Regions from separate parts of the Homo sapiens genome. Here all the other regions are linked to region 4. Evidence: promoter capture Hi-C in 16 types of primary human blood cells and fetal thymus (Javierre and others, 2016). All regions are on one chromosome and are shown on one strand. The core of a region is centred on a gene start or on the middle of the fragment in contact, and the rest is flanking DNA. Distances in the headings are between cores, read along the strand shown. Region 1 has its middle 10 kb from the start of ITSN2. Region 2 overlaps ITSN2 (intersectin 2). Region 3 overlaps LOC105374329 (a long non-coding RNA gene). Region 4 holds the start of PTRHD1 (peptidyl-tRNA hydrolase domain containing 1). Region 5 overlaps LOC105374329 (a long non-coding RNA gene). Region 6 overlaps ITSN2 (intersectin 2). Region 7 has its middle 30 kb from the start of ITSN2.

Evidence for each region. Contacts are between HindIII fragments. The CHiCAGO score rates a contact against its expected background, and 5 or more counts as called.
Region 1: a contact is called between a fragment that was not itself captured here and the fragment with the promoter of PTRHD1 in region 4, in 3 of 17 cell types (neutrophils, fetal thymus and monocytes). The highest score is 9.2, in neutrophils.
Region 2: a contact is called between a fragment that was not itself captured here and the fragment with the promoter of PTRHD1 in region 4, in 2 of 17 cell types (monocytes and neutrophils). The highest score is 5.7, in monocytes.
Region 3: a fragment that was not itself captured here is called in contact with the fragment with the promoter of PTRHD1 in region 4 in 13 of 17 cell types (megakaryocytes, endothelial precursors, M0 macrophages and 10 more); the score reaches 13.7 in megakaryocytes.
Region 5: a contact is called between a fragment that was not itself captured here and the fragment with the promoter of PTRHD1 in region 4, in 5 of 17 cell types (endothelial precursors, megakaryocytes, neutrophils and 2 more). The highest score is 10.0, in endothelial precursors.
Region 6: a fragment that was not itself captured here is called in contact with the fragment with the promoter of PTRHD1 in region 4 in 1 of 17 cell types (monocytes); the score reaches 5.2 in monocytes.
Region 7: a fragment that was not itself captured here is called in contact with the fragment with the promoter of PTRHD1 in region 4 in 6 of 17 cell types (megakaryocytes, M0 macrophages, endothelial precursors and 3 more); the score reaches 7.7 in megakaryocytes.

Annotation. Positions count from the first base shown.
Region 1 is chr2:24,369,115-24,372,334 of GRCh38, reverse strand. No RefSeq gene overlaps it. Among named protein-coding and RNA genes, the nearest start is that of ITSN2, 10 kb to the right of the region's middle. The HindIII fragment of the contact is 3,412 bases long and covers 1-3,220 here.
Region 2 is chr2:24,352,603-24,355,719 of GRCh38, reverse strand. All of the region lies in intron 1 of ITSN2 (intersectin 2), which reads left to right. Among named protein-coding and RNA genes, the nearest start is that of ITSN2, 6.4 kb to the left of the region's middle. The HindIII fragment of the contact is 8,462 bases long and covers 1-3,117 here.
Region 3 is chr2:24,411,639-24,414,795 of GRCh38, reverse strand. The region is part of intron 2 of LOC105374329 (a long non-coding RNA gene); the gene reads right to left. Among named protein-coding and RNA genes, the nearest start is that of ITSN2, 53 kb to the right of the region's middle. The HindIII fragment of the contact is 3,558 bases long and covers 1-3,157 here.
Region 4 is chr2:24,791,602-24,794,968 of GRCh38, reverse strand. It overlaps PTRHD1 (peptidyl-tRNA hydrolase domain containing 1), which reads left to right and starts at 1,578. Exons shown (of 2, transcript NM_001013663.2): 1 at 1,578-1,843. The coding sequence starts at 1,592. It overlaps CENPO (centromere protein O), which reads right to left and starts at 1,544. Exons shown (of 8, transcript NM_001322101.2): 1 at 1,468-1,544; 2 at 1,004-1,117. The coding sequence starts at 1,049. LOC105369164 (a long non-coding RNA gene) reads left to right here and starts at 1,894. Exons shown (of 3, transcript XR_939843.4): 1 at 1,894-2,202; 2 at 2,385-2,585; 3 at 3,190-3,367. RefSeq lists an enhancer at 1,488-1,917. The HindIII fragment of the contact is 6,911 bases long and covers 108-3,367 here.
Region 5 is chr2:24,429,954-24,432,890 of GRCh38, reverse strand. The region is part of intron 2 of LOC105374329 (a long non-coding RNA gene); the gene reads right to left. Among named protein-coding and RNA genes, the nearest start is that of NCOA1, 60 kb to the left of the region's middle. The HindIII fragment of the contact is 3,708 bases long and covers 1-2,937 here.
Region 6 is chr2:24,330,346-24,333,725 of GRCh38, reverse strand. All of the region lies in intron 1 of ITSN2 (intersectin 2), which reads left to right. It also overlaps the pseudogene HMGN2P20. Among named protein-coding and RNA genes, the nearest start is that of ITSN2, 28 kb to the left of the region's middle. The HindIII fragment of the contact is 2,065 bases long and covers 1,084-3,148 here.
Region 7 is chr2:24,389,065-24,392,279 of GRCh38, reverse strand. No RefSeq gene overlaps it. Among named protein-coding and RNA genes, the nearest start is that of ITSN2, 30 kb to the right of the region's middle. The HindIII fragment of the contact is 740 bases long and covers 1,047-1,786 here.

The DNA of each region.
Region 1 (3,220 bases), core at 317-2,816, 420 kb after region 4:
CTAGAGTTTCCATGATAGGAACCCAAGTCTACACAGTCTACTCTACATCCTGGGTTCTAATGAACACCCAAAAAGGGTGCTGCAAAAGGGGCACCCAAAAAAGCAAAGTAAGCACATTCTCCTGGGCCTGGCCAAGCAAGGGCAGGCCTAGAGCATACCTGTCTGCACATTTGCATACACACACACACACACATAGTTATTTAGAAATAATTCCACATTTTTATAAAAAATGTGTTGAGGGCCGGGCGCGGTGGCTCACGCCCGTAATCCCAACACTTTGGGAGGCCAAGGCTGATGGATCACGAGGTCAGGAGATTGAGACCATCCTGGCTAACACGGTGAAACCCCGTCTCTACTAAAATTACAAAAAATTAGCTGGGTGTGGTGGCAGGTGCCTGTAGTCCCAGCTACTTGGGAGGCTGAGGCAGGAGAATGGCTTGAACCCGAGAGGTGGAGCTTGCAGTGAGCTGACATGTGCCACTGCACTTCAGCCTGGGCGACAGAGCAAGACTCTGTCTCAAAAAAAAACAAAAACAAAAAACAATGTGTTGAACTGGGCGCAGTGGCTCACATCTGTAATCCCAGCACTTTGGGAGCCCGAGGCGGGCGGATCACAAGGTCAAGAGATCGAGGCCATCCTGGCCAACATGGTGAAACCCTGTCTCTACTAAAAATACAAAAATTAGCTGGGCGTGGTGGCACATGCCTGTAGTCCTAGCTACTCAGGAGGCTGAGGCAGGAGAATCACTCGAACCTGGGAGGGAGAGGTTGCAGTGAGCCAAGACTGCGCCACTGCATTCCAGCCTGGTGACAGAGTGAGACTCTATCTCAAAAAAAAAAAAAAAAAAGTGTTGAAATAGTTATCAAGCAATTTTTTTGTTTTTGTTTTTGGGTTTTGAGACAACGTCTTGCTCTGTTGCCCAGGCTGGAGTTCAGTGACATGATCCTGACCCATTGCAACCTTGAATTTCTGGGCTCAAGCCATCCTCCTGCCTCAGCCTCCCAAGTAGCTGGGACTACAGACACACATCACTACACCTGGCTAAGTTATTTCATGTTTTTCTTTTTATTTAATTTCATACATGGGTGTTTCAGCGTTTAGGGCTTCTAAACACTGAATCCAATCTTGATGATACCAATTCCAGTATTTTTACAACTTGTTTGTTTTTGAGACAGGGTCTGGCTCTGTCCGTCAGGCTGGAGTTGCAGTGGTGTGATCACTGCTCACTGCAACCTCCGCCTCCTGAGCTCAAACCATCCTCCTACCTCATCCTTCCAGGTGGCTGGGACTACAGGCACATGCCATCACGTCCAGCTAATTTTTTTTTTTTTTTGTAGCGATGGGATTTCACCATGTTGTCCAGGCTGGTCTTGAATTCCTGTGCTCAAGTGATCCACCTGCCTTGGCCTCCCAAAGTGCTAGGATTACAGGTGTGAGCCACTGTGCCCAGCCTTTTACAGTTTTTAAATTAGAATCACATGATGTTCATGTTCATTAGGCAATTTATATTTGTGTATTCTAAATTTCAACATGTCTCAGCCATGGGATACATTCCTGACTCATTTAAGAAGCTATGAAAAGCGTTCATCAGACACCAAAATAGCTCTTAAAGTTAATTATACTTAGAGTCAGGATTTTGTGCCAAACACTCAATACCCAACCATTAATTATTATTTTCTAAATATTGAGAGTGTAGTATAAGCTGATAAGTACATGTCAAAACCTGGTCCCTGCCCCAAGGCTTACCCTATAAATGACAAAACTGAATCCATTTAGACTACACACTACATCAAATTAAAAGCAAGGCTAACTTGAAAGGCACAAAGTTCAAGGTCCTTTCTTTTTCTTTTTTTTTTTTTTGAGACAGAGTCTCCCTCTGTTGCCCAGGCTGGAGTGCAGTGCCGCGATCTCGGCTCACTGCAACCTCCGCCTCCCAGGTTCAAGTGATTCTCCTGCCTCAGCCTCCCAAGTAGCTGGGATTACAGGCAGCCACCACCACGCCTGGCTAATTTTTGTATTTTTCGTAGAAATGGAGTTTCACCATATTGGCCAGGCTGATCTTGAACTCCCAACCTCAGGTAATCCACCCGCCTCGGTCTCCCAAAGTGCTGGGATTACAGGCACGAGCTAGTGCACCCGGCCAGTTCTTTCTGTAAATCCCTAAGAAGTTACTATAATTCTAACCAGAATTTTTTGATTTGAAGGTAGAATTTTATATTTTTAATCTTCTAACAATGACATTGCTGCTGTTCCAGGAAAGAACATTGAACTTAAGAAGACAATGCTAGAGTTGTAATACAATTTCAGTTACGCTCTCCTGTTGTTCCAAATGACAAAATCCAATAGTAAAAGAAAGCCCTTTGCTATCACCTAGATTCTTCCTAAGCATCTAAAGGAAGTAAAATATATCAATCCATCTTAGCTGGGTGTGGTGGCATGTACCTGTAGTCCCAGTTACTCGGGAGGCTGAGGCAGAAGAATTGCTTGAACCCGGGAGGTGGAGGTTGCAGTGAGCCGAGATCGCACCACTGCACTCCAGCCCGGGCGACAGAGCGAGACTCCATCTCAAAAAAAAAAGAGTGATCTGCCAGGCGTGATGGCTCATGCCTGTAATCCCAGCACTTTGGGGGGCTGGCAGGAGGGTTGCTAGAGTACAGGAGTTTTAGACCAGCCTGGGCAACATGTAGAAAAAAAAAATTAGCCAGGCATGGTGGCACTCACCTGCAGTCCCAGCTACTTGGGAGGCTAAGTTGGGGGAGGATCACTTGAGTGTGGGAGGTTGAGACTGCTGTGAGCCATGATCTCACGACTGTACTTGAGGCTGGGTGACAGAATGAGATGGTGTCTCAAAAAAAAAAAAAAAATTATCTGTGCTCCACTATACATCCCACCCTCTCTCTATTGAGAAGATGAAGCACAAGTGCAGAGGTGAGACAGAGAGGGTCCCTGGACAGTGTTCAGTCCCTAATTCCATTTTGCCTGGCCCCACTCCTGTCCTTGGTGACACTGGCACACTCCACTTACCTTGTATATAATTAATTCTTTTTTTGCCTAAGCCCTTTGAGTTGATCCCCGTTATTTGCAACCAAACATTTTAACTGATACAAATACCTGGTCACTTACATACGAAATTAAGAGTTTTATGTTTCCCTATACAAAGGCATAAGAAAAGCACCTGCTGAAATTATTGAAATGGGAAGTGAGGCTTATTCCTTTTTG
Region 2 (3,117 bases), core at 18-2,517, 440 kb after region 4:
TGGCTTTTGTTGCAATTGCTTTTGGCATTTTTGTCATGAAGTCTTTGCCCATGCCTATGTCCTGAATGGTATTGCCTAGGTTTTCTTCTAGGGTTTTATGGTTTTGGATTTTATATTTAAGTCTTTAATTCATCTCAAGTTAATTTTTGTATAAGGTGTAAGGAAGTGGTCCAGTTTCAGTTTTCTGCATATGGCTAGCCAATTTTCCCAGCACCATTTACAGAATAGGAGATCCTTTCCCCATTGCTTGTTTTTGTCTTGTTTGTTGAAGATCAGATGGTTGTAGATGTGTGGTGTTATTTCTGAGGTCTCTGTTCTGCTCCATTGGCTTATATGTCTGTTTTGGTACCAGTGCCATGCTGTTTTGGTTACTGTGTGCTGATTTTAAAGACAGGATTCCAAGTGTGAAGTAGAAAAATAAGAATGTTTATAATTAATTCTGTAAGTGGATAGATCTAAAGTTGAAGGTACATCAGAAATACTGTATTTTTTACTTGAGTTCATTTTTTGGATTTTGTAACATCCTACAGCTGTGGAGCGCAGAAACTAATGTTAGAGTTCTCTTGGGTAAAGTGTGAATATAGGTATTCTTGAGGAGGAGGAACTGAACTGGTCTTAAAGGATATGAGAGCAAAGAGGAAGTGGGAGAGGAAGGGAGGAAACTGAACAGAATTAGGACAGTTAATAGATCAAGAAATATGTATTTTCACAGCTCCAAGAGGGCAGCATATTTCATTTGCAGAATGTATAGTATTGTTTCAAAAGGTTCACTTAAAATATAATTTCATAGATACATCAGGACATTAAATGATTTATTTACTTGTGGAGCTATTCAGCAGTGGATTATGGCAGACATTTAGTGGATTAGGGGACTATTACCAGACGGTAAACATTTGTTTTATTTAACTGTTTCATATTTTTAAGATCATTTTCTTCACGAATGCGTATTCATTTTAGATAAAGTATATGTGATTTTAATAAAAATTTCATTTATTTTCATCATAACCATAGAGGATAAGAGTACAGCCTCTGAAGTTAGACCTGCTTCCAGCTCTGACACCAAATAACTGTATAATCTTGGGCAAGTTACTTTAATTCTCTTCAGCTTCTGTTTCCTTATGTGTGAAATGGGGAAATATTAGCTAGTTCCTAGTGTTGTTATATGTAATATAAAGTGCTTAGCACAGTGACTTCTGCTTAGTGTAAGTGCCTAATGTTACCTGTTGTTTTAACTTGGTTCAGTGAGAAATTTCAAACTAACCTAACATAGTTCTTATTTTGGTCTTTGTTTTACACCGTGACTGGAAAGGAAATTAGCCTTTTGCCCTTAATTTTTAATCTTACCATCGGAATAATCTATATAAGAAGGCTGAAAAGTAGGGTAGTACAGACCCACAATCCCACTGGGCTCAATTTCCAAATTTGTTTTTAACATTCTCAAGGGGCCTATGAAAATGTTTAGTGAAGCCTTCTTTAAAGTGTGGTTTATCTTGGGCCAGCCCCACAGTTGGTGATGGCCTTGGGCCTGAGACCCTTCCAGGATGGGCCTGGTGATGGTATCAGTGATAATGAGGTAACCATGATAACATGTAACAACTTGTAGTGTAGGGCTTGGCACTTAGTAAATATTGATGATTGATGGCTGCTGTTTTAATTTTCATAATAAATATGCACATTTATATCAAAATGTAAGTTTTAAATTGTAAGAACATAAGCAGTTTCCATGTTATTATGTGGTCTAACTGAACTTGATCACAAAATAGCTTTATTGAGATTTAATTCACATATCATATGAATTTGATTTTAAGTGGAAGCATGATACTTGGCTTAGTATATTCCTTTATTTTTGGACATTCATTTTTAGTTTTTTTCAATGATTACTAATGCTGCCATATCTTTGTAATTAAAGCATTTCCCACATTTACTGTTATTTCCTTATGACAGATTCCCAGAAATGAAATTATTGCTTTATAGGATATGAATGTTGGTGGGACTCTTGATATATGTTTTCACAGTGCCTTCTGAAGAGTGATACCAATACGTATTCCCATGGGCTGTACCTGCAAGCACCCTATTTAATTCACCTTTGCTAGCCCTGGGTATTGGCCAGTGTTTTGTTTTGTTTTGTCTTTGAGACAGGGTCTGGCTCTGTTGCCCAGGCTGGAGTGCAGTGGCGGGATCTCAGCTCACTGCCATCTCAGCTCACTGCAACCTCCTTCTCCTGGGCTCAAGCCATCCTCCCACCTCAGCCTCCCGCTGGGACCAACTAATTTTTTTGTAGTTTTTATTGAGGCAGGTTTACACCATGTTTCCCAGGCTGGCCTCAAACTCCTGAGTTCAGACGATTCGCCCCCACTCAGCCTCCCAAAGTGCTGGGATTACAGGCATGAGCCACTGTGGGTAGCCTCGTTTTCTTAATTATTAGTGATGTTAACATTTATTAACTACTTTTATTTCTTCTGTTTCTTCTTTCGTAGATTATTTATTTGAGGTCTTAGTGTTTTCGTTATCTATTTTAATAGCCCTATGTACATTAAAAATATCAACTGCTTATCATGTGTTGTGATTTTTCCCCATTTACCTTTTAAGTTTGTTTTCAAGGAAGTTTTAAATATTTGTTATATAGATGATATAGAATCTGCTTATTCTTTCTTTTGTTTTCTTGTATGGCTTCAAAACTTAAAAGTTGTCTTTGTTTCAAAGAGGTGATGTTTTACTTGAAAGTGAAGCATCTGTCTGAATTTCTTTCCCTCTGTACTTTTTATTCATGTCAAGTAAATAGTTTTGCTGTAATATTTAGTTCTGATATGAGACAGATGACAATAGGCTAAATATTATCAGTCCCCCTGGGACCCCTTATAGGAATGCAGGCTGAGTCACAAGCTATTCTTAGGTATTTTTATCCCCCTTTGTGTGGGTGAATTGTCTTGTTCAGAGTTGTTGACTATTCTTCAAAAATTGGTTTGATTTAAATCTTCAATAGAATTTGAGTACTAACCACTTCAGTATTAGTTTGCTATTCCTGTCCTTTTATGTCTCCTGGCTTATTGGTTGATTTTTTTGAAGGCTAAACTCAATATTTATAAAAATCTGAGCTTATAATTTGTGTTTAAAAAT
Region 3 (3,157 bases), core at 458-2,957, 380 kb after region 4:
AGTCTCTTCAAAATAAATTCTATATTGACTTTAAAGATAAGGAGAGGATGGCTGGGCGAGGTGGCTGCCACCTGTAATCCTAGCACTTTGGGAGGCTGAGGCGGGAGGATCACAAGGTCAGGAGTTCGAGAGCAGCCTGGCCAACAGAGTTAAACCCCGTCTCTACTAAAGATACAAAAAATAGCCAGGCATGGTGGTGCGTGCCTGTAGTCCCAACTACTTGGGAGGCTGAAGCAGGAGAATTGCTTGAACTCAGGAGGCGGAGGTTGTAGTGAGCTGAGATAGCACCACTGCACTCCAGCCTGGCAACAGAACGAGACTCTGTCTCAAAAAAAAAAAGATAACGAGAGGATGAAGTTGATCTATACTTACTGGTATGCAATAAACTCCAGACATATTAATTAAAAACTCAAGGTGCAGAATAGTATGTGTAGTATATACCTTTTAAGCAAAGGCAAATGATGACATATACTTATTCATATATATATGTTTGTATATGCATATATCTAGAAGTACACACACAAACAGTGGTTACCTCCAGGGAGGGAGCCTGGAAACCAAAGAGTAAGAGGACTTACTTTTTACTGTATGTGTGTGTATATATATATATATATATCTGTGTGTGTGTGTGTGTGTATATATATGTATATGTGTATATATATGTATATGTATATTATATATATATATATACACACACACACACACACACACACTTTTTTTTTTTTTTGAGGCAGTTTCGCTCTTGCTGCCCAGGCTGGAGTGCAATGGCGCGACCTTGGCTCACTGCAATCTCCGCCTCCCAGGTTCAAGCGATTCTCCTGCCTCAGCCTCCCAAGTAGCTGGGATTACAGGCATGCACCACCACCTCGGCTAATTTTGTACTTTTAGTAGAGACAAGGTTTCTCCATGTTGGTCAGGCTGGTCTTGAAATCCCGACCTCAGGTGATCCGCCCACCTCGGCCTCCCAAAGTGCTGAGATTACAGGCGTGAGCCACCGCGCCTGGCCTATATACATACACTTTTATTCTATTTGGATTTTCTTCCCATGGTAGGCATTATTTTTTCGAGTATAATAAAACCTAAGCCTAGCATAATTTCAGCACTTTGGGAGGCCAAGGCAGGTAGATCACCTGAAGTCAGGAGTTCAAGACCAGCCTGGCCAACATGGTGAAACCCTGTCTCTACTAAAAATACAAAATTAGCAGGGCATGATGGCGCACGCCTGTAATCCCAGCTACTTGGGAGTCTGAGGGAGGAGAATCGCTTGAGCCCGGTAGATGGTTGCAGTGAGCCGAGATCGGGCCATTGCATTCCAGCCTCGGCAACAAAGCAAGACTCCATCTTAAATAAAAAATAAAAAAAAAACTAAACTAAAAAAGTGTGTGTTGGGGAGGATATACAAACACATATACCCTTGGCCCAAAAACTTTACGTCTAGACATTTACTGCAAAAATATATTTACCCAAGTGCAGAATGACATATGTACAAGATTGTTTATTGTAGCATTGTTTTCAAGAGCCAAAGATACAAAGCAACTGAAATGTCCATCAACAGACATTAATGAAATCATGCTATTATGAAATTGTGGGATACTCAGACGCTACCAAAAAGAATGAAGAAGCTCTTTATGTACTACATGCAAGTACATCCAAGATATCTTCAGTGAAAAGAGCAAGGCTCAGAAGGTCCATACACCAGTGTTGAGGCAAAGGGGGAATATAATACATTGTTTGCTTAAATATGCATAAAGTCACTCTGGGAGGCTACATCAAAAGCATGAAATGGATTAGCTCTGGGGAAGAGAATTGGGCACCTGGGAAACAGGAGCGGGAAGGAAAGTTTTCACAAACATTTATTTGTACCCTTTGAGCTTTCAGCCATGCGAACAAATTTCCTATTAAAAATAAAACATGGCCAGGCATGGTGGCTCCCATCTGTAATCCTGGTACTTTGGAGACCAAAGTGGGAGGATTACTTGAGGCCAAGAGTTCAAGACCAGCCTGGGCAACATAGGAAGACCCTGCCTCTACAAAATCTAAAAAAAAAAAAAAAAATTAGGCCAGGCCCAGTGGCTCATGCCTATAATCCCAACACTGTGGGAGGCTGAGGCGGGCGATCATTTGAGGTCAGGAGTTCGAGACCAGCCTAACCAACATGATGAAAACTCATCTCTACTAAAAATACAAAAAAATTAGCTGGACGTGGTGGTGTATGCCTGTAATCCCAGCAACTCGGGAGGCTGAGACAGGAGAATCACTTGAACCCAGGAGGCGGAGGTTGCAGTGAGCCAAGATTGTGCCACTGCACTCCAGCCTGGGCGACAGAGCGAGAGACTCTGTCTCAAAAACAAAAACAAAAAAATTAGCTGACTGTATGGCACACACCTGCAGTCCCAGCTACTTGAGAGATTGAGGCAGGAGGATTGTTTGAGCATAGGAGTTAGAGCAATGAGCTACAATTGTGCTACTGCACTCCAGCCTGTGTGACAGAATGAGATCCTGTCTCTTGAATAAGTAAATAAATAAATAAAACAGACCACCAGGTTTCCCTGATGTAGTACCACTGTGATACAAGACACAGGTGTTCACTTACGATAATAATCTTTCTTTAGCATAATCAACGTACTATTTACCACCATAAAGAAGCAGAGTTTGACTTACAGTTTCAATTGTGCATGAAAATAAATGACCTGTTTAAGGGGATAAACAGATGTATAAACTGATTGGCCACCTGTGTTACAATGGCATCATCATGGCCAGTCACAAAAGATTTCTCACCCTTTGACAAGAATGTGGACCCCTGGGGTGGAGTGTGGCAAAGGTCACTGTGGAGAAGGCCAGAGGCACTGACTTAGGAACAAAGCCTTTCTGAAATGGACAATGTCTTCACAGTGTCCTCCAATTCCAGGCACAAATGGCCCTCAGCCAAGCCCAGAGATTGCAGTCACACAGCCAGGTCAATCTATCGTGCCCGTCTTAGTCCATTTTGTGCTGCTATAAGGGAATACCAGCGACTAGGCAACTTATAAAGAAAAGAAATTTATTCTTCACAGTTCTGAAGGCTAGGAAGTCCAATATCAAGGTGTCAGCATCTTGCAAGGGCCTTCTTGCTGAGTCATCCCATGACAGAAGGTGAGAGGGAAAGAGAAAGATGCTT
Region 4 (3,367 bases), core at 329-2,828:
TTATCAATGATAATGATGACCCAGAGAAAAATAGGATAACCAAATTCACTGACGCGCTCAGAAATTCTTTTTAAAACTGTAATTTAAGTTAGGTTTTATGGCAAGCTTTCCCAAAGTACTAACGTAGAACCCTTTGGATTTAGGCATCAGGCTTGAGTAAGTATTTCAAAGTTCTAAAAAGTATTAGTAGCAAAGAACATAAAGTCACACAAAACCAGAACTGTCCACAAATATTACTAGGCACTAAAGAAGAAAGCAACTTACTCCTGGACAGAAATTCAAACGCAAATCTCAGTTTCCAAAGGATTGACTAAGGACTAAGTAAAAGTAATAGTTTCGTAATTCTAAGCAACTCTAACAAGCATTCTTTAAACACCTTCTACATTTTAAGACACAAAGTATGTAAAGAATTAAGCCTTTCATTGAATATTTCCTATATATTAGACATGTGCTAAATGCTTCACTTGAAAAGTCTGAGTTCAATACTTTTCCACCACAAAAGAAATACTTTTTCCACAACCACAACTACAGTGCTATTTTCACCTCCATTTTCCAGATGAAGAAACAGAGGCAGAGAATAAAGTGACTTGCCTAAGGTCACAATATTTATCATGGCAGAGCCAACACTCAAAACCAGTTCTAGCCAACACTAAAGTCACTGCCCTACACTGGCCCTCCCTCAAGAGTAATGCATACATGGCCCAAAAAATCCGGGGAGAGGAAAGGGACCTCCCTGGCTAGAACCGCAGTTCAGAATATAAACACTGAGCATATGATGGATGCAACTTATCCGTTTCAAAAGGGGTGGGAGCCTAGAAACGAAGCCATTTTTCCTCCTCGAATAATCTTGGCTGCCTGTCCCTTTGTCTTCAATGTTAGTTCCTTTCACTATTCTGCTCCCAAACAGGCCAGGTCCCACGTCAGTTCCAGGAGGAAAGGGCTCTCTCAGCCTGCGGGTCATCTTTGGGCAGCAGCAGGAAGGAGGCGGCGACCCTCTGAATACCTCCTTTGGACTCGCCATCTGGACGTAAAGGGTTCGCCTGCTCCATCTCAGATTCCCAAGGGCCTTCCCATGAAGTTGTCTAGGCAACCGGTGATAGGGACTCCAATGTCCTTGCTAATAAAAGAAAAATGGCAACAGTCACATCACATCTAGTCCCATTCAAACCCAGACGGCAGGGCACACACCACTCAGGCACAACCCCTGGGCCGCGGATGACACAAATGTCACGGCTAGGATCCCCTTTCCTGAGCCGCCCGCCCTCTCCCATCGTCCGAGCCAGCAGAGTCCATGCCCACCCCCGCGCCCATCCCGCGGCCCCGGCGCGCTCCCGAGGCCACGGCTACTCTGGTCCAGCGGGCTTCCCGGCCACGGAAGGAGTTTTAAGAAGGCCGTTCAGCCCGCCACCCTGGCCACGGTCCGGTCCGACAATGGGTCTTTCCCCTACCTTCTCCCTTCTAGCTCACCCAGGCCAGAAGCGAGAATTCCCGCCATCCACGTCTTCAAAACCAAACCAACCGGTCCCGGCGTGCTTTGCGATCCTGCCGTACAAAAGCATGGCGGCGCTCAGGGCCCCGCCCTGATCCCAAGATGCACCGGGGAGTAGGTCCGGCCTTTCGGGTGGTCAGGAAGATGGCGGCCTCTGGGGCGGAGCCGCAGGTCCTGGTACAATACTTGGTGTTACGAAAGGATCTATCACAAGCTCCGTTCTCCTGGCCGGCGGGCGCACTGGTAGCGCAGGCTTGTCACGCGGCCACCGCGGCCTTGCACACTCACCGCGACCACCCGCACACAGCCGCTTACCTCCAAGAGCTGGGGCGCATGCGCAAAGTGGTCCTCGAGGTGAGGCACTCGGGCGGAGGGGGAGGTGCTGAGACATCGAGGGCGGAAGTGGGTGTGGTCTTCGGTCCGAAGGCCTGGCTGCGGGGAGTGGGTGCGGCGGGAGTTGGGGTGATCGTTAACATTTAGACTGGAGCTGTTTCCCTGGAGGTGCGCCCTTGGGAAGGGCCTGACTGTGTGAAGAGTGGACAGCAGTCCTCCGCCCCCTGCTGGGCTCGCGGTAAAGTGGTGGCTCCTGTGTCCCCGCTGTTCCGCCTGTGCACTGGCCGACTTTTTAAAGCCATGCCCCAAAGTGCTGTCCTCCTGCAAAACCGAGCCCGAAGGGACAGTGCAAAGTGAAGTCAAACTGAGTATTTACCTGGGTAGGACGCCAAATTATTTGAAAATAAATACTAAAAACGTTAGTATAAATTGAACCTAGCTTCAGCTAGACCAGGCACCAGGTGTGTAAATCGGTACACCTTTTAAAATAGCAGTCAGGTTCTGTTTGCAGATGACCAAACAAATCTCACCCTTACCCTTTGACTCTCTATCCTGCTGCTAGAGATGTAGCCTAAGAAAATAATCAGATGCACCCAAAGAGCTTTGCACAAGGATATTCATGGGAGCCCTTATGGTTTTGAAGCATATTTAGTGGTCGGGAAGAGTGCTCATGATGCGAAGCTAACTGAACTATATATACAGAATGATCCAGACTTTGAAAGGAAAAACTAAAGAAATACATCTACATATTAAGTAGTGCATGGTGAGATTTTGGTTATTTCCTAATGCTTAATCTGTATTTTTAAAATTTTCTACCTTAAGCACATATTTTATAATAAGGAAAAACGGCTTTAATAATAAACGGCTTTTTATAATAAGGAAAAACGGCTTTAAGCCAGAACTCAGGTGGAGGGGTGGAGTAATCCCTTCATGGGTAACTGACAAAGATAGATTATCTTTCAAGAGAAAAATTGCTGCTGGATAGTGAAACATCAAGCGGTAACCTGTAGGAAAAATGCCTTGAGAATCTGTGTAGGCAGAACAGAAGCTGCTGGCTTTTCACTTAGATTTTCTTCCTAGTAAGAGGTCTCAAGAAATCAGGTTAGACTCCTCTTGTCGCAGGTGAAACTCTCTGAAGCCTACAGGGATTAAGTGACTCCCCTGAGTTTAAAAGAGGGTCTCATGATTCTTAGTTGTTAGTCATGACTCAAGAAAGGGACTTAGGAGTCGCTACTGATTACATTGAGGTGCCGCTGTAGTCAGAAGGGCCAATAAAATATAAGAAAATACCAGGATTAACTACATTTATTGAGTGCTTAGTGTGTGCCAGGCACAGGTCCAAGCCTGATTTCATTGATCCCCATTAGGAAGCATTATTCCTGTTTTATAAAGGGACGAAGAGGCCAGCGAAGTCACCTAACTTATCCACGATCACACAGTCAGCAAGAGTTTGGAGTCCAGTAGTCTGATTCCAGAGCCTCACTGTATCTCACTATGCTCTGCTGCTGCCCGAGGCTGAAGAAGCTGATGAGTCCTCCAGCAGAG
Region 5 (2,937 bases), core at 107-2,606, 360 kb after region 4:
TCCACTTAGATGTCTGTTCTGAGTCTGGACTTCAAAAATCAAACATTGTAAACTTGGAACAGTTAGGGCCAGGCACAGTGGCTCACGCCTATAATCCTAGCACTTTGGGAAGCCAAGGTGGGTGGATCACCTGAGGTCAGGAGTTCGAGACCAGCCTGGCCAACGTGGCGAAACCCTGTCTCTACTAAAAATACAACAATTAGCTAGACGCACGTCCTGTTGGCGCGTGCCTGTAATCCCACCTACTCAGGAGGCTGAGGCAGGAGAATTACTTGAACCCGGAAGGTGGAGGTTGTAGTGAGCTAATATTGCGCCATTGCATTGCAGCCTGGGCAACAAGAGCGAAACTCCATCTCAAAAAAAAAAAAAAAAGAAAGAAAGAAAGAAAAAGAAAAGAAAAGAAAAAACTTGGAACAGTTAATTAAAACAAAACAAAACAATATGTGATGTTTTTAAAGGAATGTAACAGCATGTTAAAATAGGGCTTTTCCTTTCTCAGAGTTTTGGCTGAGGCTTCAAAACTGAGAACAATAGGTTTCAGTCCCTCCTCCACATCCTAAGTGAGGTACAAGACTGTCCAGGCAGGACTTGCAAAGAGAGTGGCCTTGTGCCAGTTCTGCCATGGTTAGACCTTCACCCATCTCCAGGCTTCCTAAGAGAAGGGACAGAGAGGCTGCGTTCTGATATCAGTGGAAAAAGTTCTTGAGTGGAAGGCTGGTGGGTGGCAGTAGAGCAAAGCCAGGGGACCCAGAAGGAACAAGCCACACTTGCAGAAACAGTGGGGAAGTTTGTGCCAGGGGGACATGAGGAAGAAAGCTGGACTTGAGTCATCTTACAGACCCTATCTAAGAGGACCTTCTGGATGATTCCAACATAAGAAACACTATGCGGGATGGTCAACTGGAATTCAAGTCATAAAGGGGAGAATGGAAGAGCCTAGCTAAAATGGGCACTGTCCAAGTCAAGGGAATGCTTAGTAGGAGGGCCAAAGGAGGAAGGGTCTCTAAACAAATTCTCAAAAGCACCTCACTAGAGAAATACCCGTTAGATCTGCTACTTACCAAGGGTGCTGTGATTACAACTCAAGAGCCACTGAAGGCCTCTGTTTATTTAATCCCCTCTCTCCTGGGCCCAGCTAATGCAAGAGGAGGAGAAACAAAGAGAAGACAATGACTGGAACCCCCTTCTTCCCTATATGCTTGCAAGCCTAAGTTTGCTCACACTAGTGACAGGGAGAACTTTAATTTGGATAAGAAATTAAAATTTTGATATTTGATTGGACTGAACTTTTCAATACCTGATGATAAACGGAAAACCATGGGTAGGGGCTGGGTGCCATGTCTCACGCCTGTAATCCCAGCACTTTGGGAGGCCGAGGTGGGCAGATCACTTGGGCCGTGGAGTTGGAGACCAGCCTGAGTAAAATGAGGAAACCCTGTCTTTACAAAAAAATACAAAAATTAGCTGGGTGTGGTGGTGCATGCCTGTGGTCCCAGCTACTTGGGAGGTTGAGGTGAGAGGCTCAGCAGAGCCTAGGAGGTCAAAGCTACAGTGAGTCATGATTGCACCACTGCACTCCAGCCTGCATGACAGAGCGAGACCCTGTCTCAAAAGAAAAAAGAGACAACCATGGATGGGTAGGGAAGAAAGATTTGAGAGAGTAGGGACATTCTTTCTCAATCCATTTTGTGCTACTCTAACAGAGCATCTGAAACAATAATTACTAAAGAGCAGAGATTTATTTCTTACAGTTCTGGAGGCTACTAAGTCCAAGGGGCCCACATTGATCAGATAACCTTCTTCTTTCTTTCTTTTTTTGAGACAGAGTCTCACTCTGCCACCCAGGCTGGAGTGCAGTGGCGCAATCTGCAATTCTCCAGGCTCAGTCGAGTAGCTGGACTTACAGGCCCCTGCTACCACACCCGGCTAATTTTTGTATTTTTTAGTAGAGATGGGGTTTCACCATATTGGTCAGGCTGATCTTGAACTCCTGACCTTGTGATCCACCCAACTCAGCCTCCCAAAGTGCTGGGATTACAGGCATGAGCCATCACACCCAGTCTCTTGCTTTTTTTTTTTTTTTTTTTTGAGACTGGGTCTTGCTCTGTTGCCCAGGCTGGAGTGCAGTGGTGCAATAATGGCTCACTGTGGCCTGGACCTCCGGGGCTCAAGCAATTCTTCCACCTCAGCCTCCACAGTAGCTCGGACTACAAGCACATGCCACCACACTCAGCTAATTTTTTTATTTTTTGTAGAGATGAGGTCTCACTATTGTTGCCCAAGCTGCTCTCAAACTCCTGGGCTAAGAGATCCTCCCACCTCATCCTCCCAAAGTGCTGGGATTACAGGTGTGAACCAACACATCCAGCCTACCAGGGACCTTCTTGCCGCATCATCCCATGGCAAAAGGTGGAAGGGCAAGACAGCATGGACCCATGCATGCACATGAAAGAGAGGAAGAGAGGGAAGGAGAGAGAGAGGAGAGGGGAGAAGGAGGCAATGAGGGGAGGGGAGAGGGCTGAAATCATCCCTTTATCAGGAACCAACTCTGGCAGTAACAAACCCACTCCCTCAGTAATGACCTTAAACCATCAGTGAAAACAGAGCCCTCATGACCTAATCACGGCTTAAAGATCCCACCTCTCAACACCATTGCATTGGGGATTAAATTTCCAACATATGAATTTCGGGGGACACATTCAAACCACAGCATAGTTATAAGATAGGACAAGTGCTTTCTGTTTGAGCCATCCCAAATCCATCTTGTTTAATATACTGGTTACAGGGGAATAACTTTGGGGAGTTGGGGAAGGATTGATTGCAAACGGGAGAGACTAGCATCTATTGTCTAGATATTAGACAAGGAGGCACTGTGGGCTGAGGCTATTCCTGAGGTAAACCTGGCAGGACTTAATGACTGCTTAGATGTGGAAGGGA
Region 6 (3,380 bases), core at 867-3,366, 460 kb after region 4:
GCAATTACTCCAAATGGCAACTGAATTATATTAAATTGAAGCAGTGTTCTTTGCCTTATGCCTACTATTTACCCAATATATTTTCTTGGTTTCTACAAAGGGAACAATGCCAGTTCTGCATTAATTTTTAATGAGCAGGAAAATCATATGAACATTCTAAAAACCATACATAACTAACAGTATTCAAAATACATGATGACTGCAAATTTGCCAAAATTGCCTGTCACTACATTTCATCCCCTGTGAAGAGTAGAAAGGGGTGTTTGTTGGATGCTGACTTCAGTTGCACTTGCCTGAAACAGGCGCCAGTCATGTACCTGGGGAGATGCTGGTTACCCTTTTCTTCCTTTCAGAGAGTTATACCAAGAGATAAGAAACAATTAGCACTCCCTAATTTATGTATGTGATTGATGCTGTCCAGTGTGTTGGGAGTCATCTCTGGCTTGTTTTTCTTCTCCTGGACAAATGTGCTAACAGTAAGTTCTCCTGCTGTTTGTAGGAACCTGTGACGCATTATCTCCATTTAAGAGAGGAAGAGGCAGATAAAGCCCATGGGAAGTTCATGGGCTTAAGAATTAGACAGGCTTGGGATTGCATTCTGGCTTCATGACATACTGAATTTGGGCAAGTAATTTAACCTCTTCAGTTTCTTCTGTGAAATGAGTACAGTATCATCTGCCTTGTGGGGATATTGTGAGAGGAGTATCCATATTATCAAAGGTGCCTAGCAGTATCTGGCACCTGGTAGATAAGTCTACAAGCTTGTCAGTGTCTGAAGCTCCTTCTGCAGAACCTGAAACATTGGATTCTCAATGAATACTCAGCATGACACAGTACATCTACTGTGATCAACAGAAGTGTATTGAATTAATGGTAAACAGTAAATGTTAATTTATTAATTGCTTTTTGAAAAATGTAAAACAAAGTTTTTGGTATCTGTTGCATTTTCAAAATTTCAATTATAATTGTTAAGTACTACTCTGCAAATAGACTAGTAGAATTGTTAAGCATTAGGTAATTATTCCACAGTGGGGCAGAGAGAATAGAAATGTAATAGATATGAAATGATATGTTTTAAAAGCTTATTGGTTCCAACAAAATATACTCCCATATTTAGATGTTACCACAGTTAATCAGATGTTACATACAATATAAATGTTACATATAATATGGTACCTATGTGCATGGGTGGCTAAATTCCACATACCAGATGATAAAGATTCTGTAATACTAGTACCTTCAGCTTTACCCAAGGGATTTGCCCTTATTGCCAGTAATATTATTAATATTTAGTTCATTCTCAGGTTTTATTTCAGAATTATGCCTGTGATTACTGAGCATCTACTATTTGGCATTCTTTTTTTTTTTCCCAAGCCAAACTGTATCCAGCTTTATTAAAGATACTTTCCGTAAACAATCATGGTATTTCAGGCAGGACATGGGCAGACAATCATTGAGTATACAACAATTTTCCTTTTTTTTTGAGACGGAGTTTTGCCCTTGTTGCCCATGCTGGAGTGCAATGGCCTGATCTTGGCTCACTGCAACCTCCACCTCCTGGGTTCAAGCGATTCTCCTGCCGCAGCCACCCAAGTAGCTGGGATTACAGGCATGTGCCCCACGCCTGGCTAATTTTGTATTTTTAGTAGAGATGGGGTTTCACCATGTTGGTCAGGCTGGTCTTGAACTCCTGACTTCAGGTGATCTGCCTGCCTTGGCCTCCCAAAGTGCTGGGATTACAGGCATGAACCACTGCGCCTGGCCACAACAACTTTCAAACTCCCTTCTTGAAAGCCACTCTAAAACCCAATGAAGTCTTCATCTGATGCTGTGAACAGGGAAAGTTTAGAGTGAGGGTTGACATTTCACATTTAGCATATTGTTTAACAACTTTTCCCAGCCGACCCTGACTTTCAGGAAGTGAAATGAAAATGGCAGAATTTATCTGAAGAACCACTGCTCTTTTGACAGGTGCCGTCTCAGTGGCATCACTGGAAAGTCCAGATTGCCTGACACACTGGTAACTAATGATTGGGGGGTCAGGTCTCAACAGATGTCTGGGTTTAAGGGAGTTAAGTCTCTGCTGAAGGACGGAAAGGGAGAAGAGGACATAAAAACAAATTTGTTTTCCATACCACAAGGCTTTTGTGCCAAGGTGGCCATGTGTGTTAAAGTCAGGGAATCCCTCCTCCTGGGAGCCAAGAGGAACTCTCTCAAAACTAGAAGGGAAAGGTGTTTCCTCCACATTAGTCCAGCTTCGGAGACATTCTATTAGTGACATATGGCCCTTCCCCCAAAAACAACAATGAAGTGTTCTGTGTGCTAACAACATAGCTTAAAAAAAAAAAAAGTAGGCTGGGCACAGTGGCTCATGCCTGTAATCCCAGCACTTTGGGAGGCTGAGGCAGGTGGATCACCTGAGGTCAGGAGTTCAAGACCAGCCTGGCTAACATAGTGAAACCCCATTTCTACTAAAAATACAAAAAATTAGCCGGGCGTGATGATGCGCAACTGTAATCCCAGCTACTTGGGAAGCTGAGGCAGGAGAATTGCTTGAACCTGGGAGGCGGAGGTTGCAGTCAGCCAAGATCGCGCCATTGCATTCCAGCTTGAGCAACAAGAGCGAAACTCTGCCTTAAAAAAAAAAAAAAAAAAAAGTGGCCGGGTGCAGTGGCTCATGCCTATAATCTCAGCACTTTGGGAGGCTGAGGCAGGTGGATCACCTGAGGTCAGGAGTTCGAGACAAGCCTGACCAACATGGTGAAACGCCATCTCTGCTAAAAATACAAAAATTAGCCAGGTGTGGTGGCGCCTGCCTGTAATCCCAGCTACTCAGGAGGCTGAGGCAGGAGAATCGCGTGAACCCACGAGGTGGAGGTTGCAGTGAGCCAAGATCACGCCACTGCACTCCAGCCTGGGCGATAGAGCGAGAATTCATCTAAAAAAAAAAAAAAGTAAAATGAAATTCTGCATTTTTTATAAAACTTGATAAAAAATAGTATTTCAAACTACTGTCACCAGAAGTACACAGTTATAAAAAATACACACACTTCACTTGGCATCTCCAGCACTTTCAGCTTTCTGTGCCCCGTCTGTTTTAGCATCTCCATTTTCTGCAAGGTTATTCCCCTCCTTGCCAGCATAAGCTTTTCCCTTTTTCCCTTTGGGTACCTTCTCTCCCTTCTTTGCAGGGGCCTTTTCAGGCTTGGGCTCTGGCGTTGGAGGAGCAGGTTTAGCAGACAACCTCATGGGTCTTCTCTGTGGTTCGTTCTTCACCTTGGCTTTATCTCCTTTAGCATCCCCTTCACCCTTTCTCTTGGGCATGGTGGTGGCAACGGTGGCAGGAGGTAAGCACTTGGCACAGGATGCAGTGGCATGCA
Region 7 (3,215 bases), core at 167-2,666, 400 kb after region 4:
AGGCTGGTCTCGAACTCCTGACCTCAAGTGATCCACCTGCCGCAGCCTCCCAAAGTGCTGGGATTACAGGCACGAACCACCGGCCCCGGCCAGAACTCCTTTTTCAAAGACAGATGGACCTTCTTTCCCACTCCAGCAGAAGACTGACTGTGTGTTAAGAAACTTACAGCATCTAAACATAGGGATACCAGGCATAGCTGAAGGCAATAGGAATTATCAACATTCAGAGGGGTATCACCATTATATTGCTAAGTTTAAGGTTGAACTAGTAATTATTACATAGAAAACTGCTAAAACAACCCACAGGGCAATTATTAATTCTAATATGAATAAAAATTTATCTTATCAGTATTATATTACTTGGCTTAACATTGAGCAAGTGTTATATAGTGAGATAATATAAACAGTATAAATATTGATATAAACAAAAATGTACTACAAATATATTGGGAGTATGAAGAGAGGGAAGGAGGTTTTAAGTGTGCTAAATTTTGTGACTCCATAATAGAACGTCAATAGATAACATATAAATAAAAATATGAGAGGTCAAGCATGGTGGTTCATGCCTGTAATCCCAACACTTTGGAAGGCCGAGGCAGGAGGATCACCTGAGCCCAGGAGTTAGAAACCAGCCTGTTCAACATAGTGAGACCCTGTCTTTACAAAAGAAAAATTAAAAATTAGCTAGGCATAGTGGTGCACAATTGCAGTCCCAGCTACTCAGGAGGTTGAGGTGGGAAGATCACTTGAACCCAGGAGTTCAAGGCCGCAGTGAACCATGATCACGCCACTGCCCTCCAGCCTGTGCAACAGAGAGTGATCCTGTCTCAAAAAAAAAAGTGTGTGTGTATATATGAATATACATATATATGTACATATGAAAATTATGTGTGTATATCTATATATATGAATATTTTTAGAAATATTTTTAGAAAAGTAGATGTAAATAGAAGAAACAGCTGAAAGAATTAAAAGTTTTTCTTCCTGAGGGGCAGGTTTCAGGGTGGAAATGGTGGTATAGTGTTCTACTATTGTCATTACAAGCTTTGTCATTGTGTTAGACTTTTTAAAATTATGTGTATATCTCACTTTGACAAAAATTATTATTATTATTTTTTAGAGACAGGGTCTCACCCAGGCTGGAGGGCAATGGCATGATCATGGCTCACTGCAACTTTGACCTCCTAGGCTCAAGGGGTCCTCCTCCCTCAGCCTCCCAAGTAGCTGGGATCACAGGTGCATGCCACCATATCCAGCGAATTTCTTATTTTTTGTAGAGATGATGTCTGTCTACATTGCCCAGGCTGGTCTCAAACTCCTGGGCCCAAGTGATTTTCCTGCCTCCACCTACCAAAGTGCTGGGATTACAGGCATGAGCCACTGCACCCAACTGGCAAAACTAAAATTGACATTTAAACAAAAGAAGAAAGGGATATATGTATTGCCTACTTAAAACAACAAACAAACAAACCCTTTTGGAGAAATGTGACAGAATCCAAAACTTCTACAAGGTATCTTTTACAATATCCAAGGTACAATCTGAAATTACTAGACATAAAAATGAAATGTGACCCCAGTACTCAAGAGTCTGATGCTGACATGCATCAAATGTTGAGTTATAACAAAGACTTTAAAGCAGCTATTAAAATTGTGCCAAACAGAGTACATATATAAAGGAAAATATTACTCATAATTAATGAAAGAAAATACAAGCAGAGAAATAAAAACTATAGTAACCAAATGTAAATTATACAATTGAAAAGTTTAATATCTGAAATTTAAAGCTTTACTGGACAGGCTTAGAAGCAGATTGAAGGTGACAGGAGAAAAAAGTCAGAAAACTTGATGAGAAATCAATAAAAATTACTCAATCTAAGTAACAGACAGAAAATGGATGGGAGAGGGCGGGAATGAATAGACTCTCAGGAAACTGAGGGGAAATAGCAAAAGAGCTAAAATATGTGTAACTGGAGTCTCAGAAGTAAGGAAGAGAATATGGGACAGAAAAATTATTTTGAAGAAAAAGAGGTTGAAATTTTCTAAATAGGTTGAAAGATAAATTTATAGATTTAAGAAGCTAAGTAACCCTCTCCCCACCAAAAAAAAAAATATGAAGAAAACCATACCTGCACACAGTATAGTCAAAATGCTGAAAACCAAAGATAAAGAGAAAATCTTGAAAGCCAGAGAAAACAACTCACTATATGCAGGGAATGATGATACAAATGAATGCTGTTTCTTCTTATAAATAATAGATATCAGAAGACAGTGAAACAATATCTTCAAGTATAGGATCAGAAAAAAGTAAATCAATCCAGAATTCTATAGCCAGCAAAACATCCTTTAAGAATGAAGGCAGCCGGGTGTGGTAGCTCACGCCTGTAACCCAGCACTTTAGGAGGCCGAGGCAGGTGGATCACCTGAGGTCAGGAGTTTGAGACCAGCCTGGCCAACATGGTGAAACCCCGTCTATACTAAAAATATAAAAATTAGCTGGGCATGGTGGCAGGTGCCTGTAATCCCAGCTACTCGGGAGGCTGAGGCAGGAGAATCACTTGAACCCGGGAGACAGAGGTTTCAGTGAGCCAAGATAGCGCCACTGCAGTCCAGCCTGAGCGACACAGCAAGACTCCGTCTCAAAAAAAAAAAAAAAAAGAAGGCAAAATGAAAAGAAAAGGAGGGGAACATCACTAATCATTAGGGGATTGCAAATCAAAACTACAGTGAGATACCACTTCACACTATTAGGATGGCTACTCTAAACAAAACAAACTCCAGGATTGGACATAGTGGCTCAAGCCAGTAATCCTAGCATTTTGGGAGGCTGCAGCAGGCAGATCCCTTGAGCTCAGGAGTTTGAGACCAGCCTGAACAACATGGCTAAACTCCATCTCATTTTTAAAACTATATAAATAAATAAACTCCAGAAAATAGCAAGCATTGTCGAGGATGTGGAGAAATTGGAATCCTTGTGCACTGTTGGTGGGAATGTGAAATGGTGAAGCTGCTGCAGAAAACAGTTACGGTGGTTCCTCAAAAATTAAAAATGGGGCTGGGCACGGTGGCTCATGCCTGTAATGCCAACACTTTGGGAGGCTGAGGTGGGCCGATCACTTGAGGCCAGGAGTTCAAGTCCAGCCTGGCCAACATGGCAAAACCCCATCTCTACCAAAAATACAAAAATTAGCTGGGCATGATGGCACATGCCTATAATC